Regions from separate parts of the Homo sapiens genome. Here all the other regions are linked to region 2. Evidence: promoter capture Hi-C in 16 types of primary human blood cells and fetal thymus (Javierre and others, 2016). All regions are on one chromosome and are shown on one strand. Each heading gives the region's core, a stretch centred on a gene start or on the middle of the fragment in contact. The rest is flanking DNA. Distances are from core to core; before and after follow the strand shown.

Evidence for each region. Contacts are between HindIII fragments. The CHiCAGO score rates a contact against its expected background, and 5 or more counts as called.
Region 1: a fragment that was not itself captured here is called in contact with the fragment with the promoter of LINC01180 in region 2 in 1 of 17 cell types (megakaryocytes); the score reaches 6.1 in megakaryocytes.
Region 3: a fragment that was not itself captured here is called in contact with the fragment with the promoter of LINC01180 in region 2 in 1 of 17 cell types (endothelial precursors); the score reaches 6.3 in endothelial precursors.

Annotation. Positions count from the first base shown.
Region 1 is chr17:44,545,862-44,548,561 of GRCh38, forward strand. No RefSeq gene overlaps it. Among named protein-coding and RNA genes, the nearest start is that of FZD2, 10 kb to the right of the region's middle. RefSeq lists an enhancer at 2,202-2,700. The HindIII fragment of the contact is 7,724 bases long and covers 1-2,700 here.
Region 2 is chr17:44,649,091-44,651,790 of GRCh38, forward strand. LINC01180 (long intergenic non-protein coding RNA 1180) reads right to left here and starts at 1,259. Exons shown (of 3, transcript NR_110661.1): 1 at 1-1,259. The HindIII fragment of the contact is 9,700 bases long and covers 305-2,700 here.
Region 3 is chr17:44,562,078-44,564,979 of GRCh38, forward strand. No RefSeq gene overlaps it. Among named protein-coding and RNA genes, the nearest start is that of FZD2, 6.0 kb to the left of the region's middle. The HindIII fragment of the contact is 2,708 bases long and covers 221-2,902 here.

The DNA of each region.
Region 1 (2,700 bases), core at 119-2,618, 100 kb before region 2:
TGAGAAAATAAATTTCTGTCATTTAAGCTATCCAATCTGTAGTATTTTGTTATGGAGCCCAAGCAGACTAAAACAAGCAGGAAACTAGGTGTTTGTGAAACTTGGATGGCCTGGAGGAGTAGACTTTGTCACGAAGCCACAGAAATGACCCTCCAGTAGAAGCTGCTACCTCTGCCACTAGCAGGTAGGGGGATCAAGAGGCTACCATTGGGACCGGTTGCAGTGGCTCATGCCTGTAATCCCAGCACTTTGGGAGGCCAAAGCAGGCAGATCACTTGAGGTCAGGAGTTTGAGACCAGCCTGGCCAACGTGGCAAAACCCTGTCTCTACTAAACAAACAAAAATTAGCTGGGTGTGATGGTGCACACCTGTAATCCCAGCTACTCAGGAAGCTGAGGCCTGAGAATCGCTTGAGCCCGCGAGTGGGAAGTTGCAGTGAGCCAAGTTCACACCATTGTATTCCAGCCTGGGGGACAGAGTGAAACTCTATCAAAAAAAAAAAAAAAAAAAAAAAAGGCTTCCATTGTAATTAAGCCAAGGTAACTGCACCTAGGGATCACTAGAAATTGCCACTGCAGCAAGAACATGACCTCATTTCCCTTCCACCTTCCAAATCTCAAATAAGCGTATTTTGCATCCAGAGCTCTAGCTGCAAGGGAGGCTGAGAGGTGAGGTTTTTGGCTTCCAACCTCTGCAGTATAGGAAGGTGGTGGGAATGGTGGGAGGATCTCTTGAGCCCAGGAGTTTGAGGCTGCAGCGAGCTGTGATCGTGCCACTATACTTCAGCCTGGGTGACCGAACAAGACCTCATCTGGAAGAGAAAAAAAAAAAAAAAGTAACTAGGGCTCTGAAAGCTAATTGAATGGTCTGGAGGTTTGGAAAGCAGATAGCTTTAGAGTGAACGTACGAATCACTTGGGGATGGTATATTTGGATAAGTGGGCAGGGCCCAGGAATCTATATTCCTAACAGGCAAACCCCAGTTCCCATTTCCCCTCCTGCCATAATGGACTCAGCATGTGGACTGATGCATGTGGACTCAGCTTTCAGAAACTTTATCCCTGGGCAGGAGCTCTGATGGGGCAGTCCCAGACACTACAGTGAGCAGTGAAAGGTTAGATTTGAGCAGTGAAAGGTTAGCAGTGAGCAGAAAAGGCTAGATTTGTGCTGAATTAGTCCCTTTCTCTCCTAAGAGCTAGTCCTGAAAGTTGGATGCTGAACCCTGAAAAATGCTGCTGTGATGGAGGCTCAGGAGAAGGGGGGGGTCTGCCTAGAACCCAGGAGTCCAGGGATTTAAACTCACCACCCCACCAAGGAGGACTGGATGGAGTCAGCTGACAACATGAATAAGCATTTCCTGAAGTTATGACTCATTTTGTTCTGAATTTCTACCCTGGCCCCGGGGGTTTAGGACCTTCGGGATCCTATTTCTATTGCAGGGGTTTGGTTAGAGAGCCCCTTCAACCTTGAGGGGTTTAAGAATTGGACAGAGGAGAAGAAAAGTAAAACAGAGGGTACAAGAGAGGAAGGGAGGAGAAAGGTAGCACTTCCACCCAAAATGGCCTCAAGTCCCTACCAGAACCCAATGTCCTCCATAGCTCACATTGAATTTCAACACAAAATAGTCTATTACAATAGATGTTCCTTTTTCCTTCTCAGTCATTTTCTTTTCTTGGCTCTTACCAGGCAGCCTTGGACCCTAAGCCCCCCAGTTCTGAGGGGAAGGCCATAGATAAATGAAAAAGCCCTGGCCTTCTTCCTCTGTGCCCCCATCCCAGCCCCACATCTCAGGGAGGGGGTCGCCCCAAGCCAGAGCAGGGCTGAGTCTGCCTGGGCCAGGCTGCCTGGCCAATAGGCTTTCCTCCTTCCCAGGGGTATCCATTCTCCTACCCAGTTCCTGAGATGCTGGGCCCCCTTCAGCCGCATCTGCAGCCTGACTGAGCAGAGTCCCCCAGGCCTTCTTCCTCTAGGCTGGTCCTCCCAGGTTAAGAGCAGGCTTCCATGTTGGAAGGGGGTCCGTCCCCCCTTCCCCCAGTTATCACCACAAAGCAAAGTCCAGGGAAGGAGGGGGAGTGGGCAAGGGTGGGGGTAGTGGGAGAGCCAGGTCCTTGCTAGTAAATCAAAGTTGGTTTCCCAGATGGAGTTGCAGCCGCTTTGATTTCTCAAGTCACCCCCCTCCCCCTCTGCTGCCTCCCCTCACCCCCAGCTCCACAGTTTCAATTCCTCCCTGAAAAGCAGCAGGGCCTCCTTTCAAACCAGCCCAGCTCCTCCAACTCCCAACAACAGCTTCAGTTACAGGAAAGGGGAAGGGGAGGGGGTGAGGTGGCCCAGCCTAGAGAGAAAGGAGAGACATTCTGGGAGAAGCAAGAGGGAGAAGGAGGAGTAGAAAATGAGGAAGGGGGAAAAGAAAGAGCAGAGTGAGAAGATGGGAGGGGGGCAGCCAGGGTGGAAGAGTGGGGCTCTGCTGGAGCAGGAGGGGAGCTCCAGCTGGGAAGCCAACCTACCTTTTCCTCCCTCCCAAGGGAGCACCCCCACACCCATCACCCCAAGGACCCCTCCATAGCTACAGAGCTATGATTCAGGCTTCCCTATTCCTCTCCCCTTGGCATTAGGTTCTAGAAGGTTCTGGAAGACAAAATATCGAAACCGTTCATTCCTAGGGACATTTATTTCCTGTTCTAGAAGGCAGAGTCACCCAAGA
Region 2 (2,700 bases), core at 9-2,508:
AATACAGTAAGACCTTGTCTCTACAATAAATACACAAAATTAGTGAGCATAGTGGCAGGCACCTATAGTTGCAGCTACTCTAGAGGCTGAAGTGGGAGGATCCCTTGAGTGCTGGAGGTCAAGGCTGCAGTGAGCCAAAAAAAAGACCAATGAATTCAAGTGTCTACCCCCTAACCCAAACAGAAGCAGACCCTAAATCTTTCAGGGTGTCATCCTAAGCTAAGTAGAAATCTAAAAGTTTCCTAGAGCACAGATAAGAGTGACCTAGCACTCCAGCCAACCAGAAAGGGAAAAGCAGAACATAAGCTTACTTTCTACAAAGGAAGCAGCTATACAAATTATGCCAGAGAACTAGAAAAACACTAATTTGAGTATCCAAAAGGGGGGAAGTAGTTCCAAATATTTCTAATAAAGAGCATTCTGTAAGCCTTCCAACAAGCTATTAAAGGTTGAGAAAACCTATCTGGCAACCCAGTTAATTTCAGGACACATAATTACAGGAACTTAGTCCCTCAAGTCAGAGATGCCTGTGAGGAATTGCACGGTTTGAATCACAGCAGATTTGCAGCCTATTTAAGTTTTTGGACCACTAGAAAACTGGAAAAACAATTCATTTAATATAGTTGAGAGAATACTTAAAAATCCTACATCAATTCAATTATATACTGACTTAGAATTATATGATTACTTCCTATGGAGGGTTAATTCCCTGGCATTTAGGTTGAGCCCCTACATATACCTTCAATTATCAAAAAAAAAATCAAAACTTTATTTGAACTCAAAGTTTTACTTATGAGAATAATGAAATCTTACTTAGATTAACACTCAAAACATTTCTTGGGGATAGGCTTTTTAAAATGAAACCCATAATTTATTTTTGTTACAAAAGGAAATGTTTACGTCCCTGTTAAAGTATAAAAAGGGTCTCATTAGTGTATCTGAAGAGTACTACATTGTACATTGTCTTCCAGAGGTGGAAAAAAAAAGAAGTTAACTTTTACATATACTTGAAAGGGAAAGTCTGCATTCTGCACTAAGTTTTCTTGAATGGAATAAGTTTAAATTGTCCTCAGTTCTAGCAAAGAATGTTCTTAAATATCTGTCTTTAAAAATCCAATAGTAGGGCCGGGTGAGGTGGCTCACGTCTGTAATCCCAGCATTTTGGGAGGCAGATGGATCATCTGAGGTCAGGAGTTCGAAAACAGCCCGGCCAACATGGTGAAAACAGCATGGCCAACATGGTGAAACCCTGTCTCCGTAAAAATACAAAAATTAGCTGGGCGTGGTGGCGGGTGCCTGTAATCCCAGCTACTTGGGAGGCTGAGGTAGGAGAATCACTTGAACCTGGGAGGTGGAGGTTGCTGCGAGCCGAGATTGCACCATTGCACTCCAGCCTGGGCAACAAGAGCAAAACTCTGTTTCAAGAGAAAAAAAAAATCCAATAGTAATTTCAGATTCACTTAAATATCCCCAAAATAGTAAGTGGAAAAAAAAGTTTTTTACTTGGGAAGCCGAGGCAGGCGGATCACAAGGTCAGGAGTTCAAGACCAGCCTGGCCAACATGGTGAAACCCCGTCTCTACTAAAAATAGAAAAATTAGCTGGGCCTGGTGGTGTGTGCCTGTAATCCCAGCTACTCAGAAGCCTGAGGCACGAGAATTGCTTGAATCTGGGAGACGGAAGTTGCAGTGAGCTGAGATCGTACCATTGCACTCCAGCCTGGGCAACAGAGTGAGACTCCAAAAAAAAAAAAAGAAAAGAAAAGAAAAAGAAAAAGTTTTTTTTACTTGAGGGCAGCATCATTCTGAATTGGATCAAAGTTACTGAAATGTAATTAATCTTATTGTATAAACATGTCTTTCGTCATTGTCCCTGTATAGAAACAATAAATGGAGAAAGAGGGTCAATAGTCTCTCCCTCCACAAAATTTTAAGTTCAGATCAAGGCAGAGAAGACATAAAACAATTATTTGAGTATTCCTAACTCTTTCTCACTTTAATCTGAGGTTTGTATATATGTCTGAGTAAGACTGGGAAACTAACCCCACCCAACCCTCAACACACACGTTGAAAATGAGATCTTCCAAAAGAGAATGAAAGAACTGAAAGAACTAACTACATATTATATACTTACTCTGTTCATAACCAAAATGTTTTCTTTGTTAATGTATTCACTCGAATTCAATAGAGTGTTAAATTTGCCAGTAATTTTTATTTCTACGACAAACCATATTAATACACGACAAGACAGTATGACTTCAAAAAATGAGCCAAGAACTTAAATAGGTATTTCTCCAAAGAAGATATACCAATAAGCACATGAAAAGATGGTCAACATCATTAGTCACTAGGGAAATGTAAGTCAAAACCACAATGAGATACCAATTCACATCCTCTAGGATAGCCATCTTTTTTAAAAAAAAATTTTTTTTGAGAGATGGGGTCTCTCATCTCTCATGCACGCCAGCATGGAGTGCAGTGTCATGATCACAGCGCACTGCAGCCTCAAACTCCTGGGCTTAAGGGATCCTCCCACTACAGGCTCCGGACTAGCTGGGACTACAGGAGCATGCCACTGTATCCAACTGGCTTTTTAAAAAAAAAAAAGAAGAAGAAAAAGAAGAAGAAGAAAGAAAACAAAACAAAAAGGCTGAGTGCAATGTCTCACACCTGTAATTCCAGCACTTTGGGAGGATTGCTTG
Region 3 (2,902 bases), core at 325-2,824, 87 kb before region 2:
AGAGCCTGAGACACTGACAAAATAGATTATATGACTGAGGAGGAAGACAGATAATAAGACAGTTCCATCTTTTGGAAAGAACAGATCTTAGAGATACCCTTCCCCTTCTTCAGGGGGAGTAGCCAAGGGCTGAATTACCCTACTGAAAATTGTTGTGGGGGAACCCTCCTCTCCACACCCTTGTCCTGTTTCTTAAATGAAACACTCTTAGAGGAAGGGAAGCTTTAGACCACAGTTTGGGGAATTTGGGGTAAAGAGGAGAAAGCACCCTGGAGGAAGACTCAGAGGTAAACCACCTGAACTCACTGCCTCACGGGAGAGGGCACCTCAGCTCCCTTGTTCAGAAAACCCAGTTAAAAACAGGAGCTTAGAGATCTGCTTTTGGAGATTTCTAGGTCGTCCTTTGAGCAGAAAAGGGTTTCCATGTTGTAAGTGGGCTGGTCCCTCCCTCTGGAAGAGCGAGGCTTTGTGTTTGCTGGAGGGTCAGGGCCAAGAAGGAAATACACTCACCTGTGGCACCTGGGCCTGGGGCAGGTCTCAGGCCCACGCTGCTTTCTGCCTGCTCTTCTGCCCTCCCCCAGGGCAATGGTCTGGGGTTTCAAGGTCCCAGGCATTTCTCCTCCAGACTCCCCCCTCTTATTGATCAGGCTTTCCCTCCTCCCAGCCCAGACTTCCCTCCAGAAGACTTTAACGTTAGTTCCAAACTTTTTGCCCTTTAAGATTTTTTGAAGAGCTAGCTCTAGAAAAAGGCCACTAAAGTTTCTCAAGACAAAATTCTTCTGAACATCCCCAAAGAATTAAGATTAGGTTCAGCCCAGTGGGATGGGGAACTGCTTTTTGTTCCAAAATCTCTTCAGGAGGGTGGGGAGATGCTGTCCCGGGGGTGCCTGCCATGGGGTCTGAGCCGGGCGAGCCCTCCCTTCTGCAGTCTTGCTACTCACTGTACCAGGGTCCCTCCTCCTCTAGAATCACTCTTCTTACCTTAAATGGATCTTAAACTTCTGGGGGCCACTGACCATCTGAGAATCTCAAAACTCTTTGGACCTCTTCCTGGAAAAAAAAAATAGCCAGATCCCCCATGAATATGCAATTGTGTGTAGCTTTAGGAAGTTTCTAGATCATCCCTCCCTGACCTCTCTCCCTACCCGCCTGCCCCCAAACTAGTTTTCGAGTCGCTGGTCTAGACATTTTTTTTTTTTTTTTTTGAGACTGAGTCTCACTCTGTCGCCCAGGCTGGAGTGTAGTGGCGCGATCTCAGCTCACTGCAATCTCCGCCTCCCGAGTTCAAGCAATTCTCCTGCCTCAACCTCCTGAGTAGCTGGGATTACAGGTGTGCATCACCACACCTGGCTAATTTTTGTATTTTTAGTAGAGATGGGGTTTCACCACGATGGCCAGGCTGGTCTCAAACTCCTGACCTCAGGTGATCCTCCCGCCTCGGCCTCCCAAAGTACTGGAATTACAGGCATGAGCCGCCGTGCCTGGCCTGTCTAGACATTTTCTAGTCCTGATTACTAGCTACCTCTCCTTCTCTAAAGGACAGCCCTTACCTTCTCAGACTCCAGTATCCCCCGGTCTCTAATCACCTCTGCTATGGAAAGGGGGTGGGGGTGAGGAGGGAAAGCCACTGGGCCTACAAAACCAGGAGTACCCCGGAACCAGATTATTCACTCAGTTCAATCCTGCCCCTTGATCAGGTAACAAGTGATCAAGATGCAGCAGAGTGGAATATGGATGAATGAAATTTGTAGTTGGGAAAAACGGAGAGAGAGACAGACAATGTATGGCGAGCAGAGGCTTTGACATGCTTTGGTACCACTCACTGCAGTAGTAGCTGTGAGCACTTGTGGCATTTTTCTAACCTCTGAGCGTGTGTCCTCATCTATAAAAAGGCTGATAGTACCTGTCTGGTAACATGAGTAGTAGACGGGACCATACATCTACAGAGCCCTCAGGCAGTAGTTCAATAAATTGTAGCACTTTTCCAATTACTTAGAATACATTTATTTATTTATTTATTTTGAGACGGAGTCTGGCTCTGTCGCCCAGGCTGGAGTGCGGTGGCGCGATCTCGGCTCACTGCAAGCTCCGCCTCCCGGGTTCACGCCATTCTCCTGCCTCAGCCTCTGGAGTAGCTGGGACTACAGGCGCCCGCCACCACGCCTGGCTAGTTTTTTTTGTTTTGTTTTGTATTTTTAGTAGAGATGTGGTTTCCCCGGGTTAGCCAGGATGGTCTCGATCTCCTGACCTCGTGATCCGCCCGCCTTGGCCTCCCAAAGTGCTGGGATTACAGGTGTGAGCCACCGCGCCTGGCCCCCACTTAGAATACATTTCCAAAAATAAAATCAGTGGATCAAAAGATCTAATTTCTTGACAAGAGAAGTGTTACCAATAGTTTTTAAACTGTTCCCTATCATTTAAAAGGACCACAGTCTTCCCTTCCCAGCACTTCCCTATCATTTCCTCCGTGTGAAGAGGTACATCTAACTGCCCTTAGAATATGGACGATGACTGGTCTTAGCTGCTTCATGCTGATAGGGGGCATTGTTTTGGGGAAAACAGCAGTCAGACTCCTCCTAGAGGTCTATCTAAGGGTTCCTAGGAAAGGGGAGCCATCATCCGAGGCTCCGATTGCCTGACCGTTTGCAGTTTGGTGGCTTCTAGGCGCAAGAGAATAAAACAAGTTTTATAAGGTTAAGTGTGCATAAATTAAACGTGTATTATACAAGGAAAGAATTTAGTGCCAAAGATTCCAGAGACAAGAAGTAAAATATACTAACAACATTGTACCCTGAGCTGTAAGAAATTAAACCTTATATAGGAGCAGTTCAACTTGAGAAGAGATAACTGTTCTTGCCATATCTTTTAGCAGTTAACAGGTGCACCCTGGGAATTCTGGGAT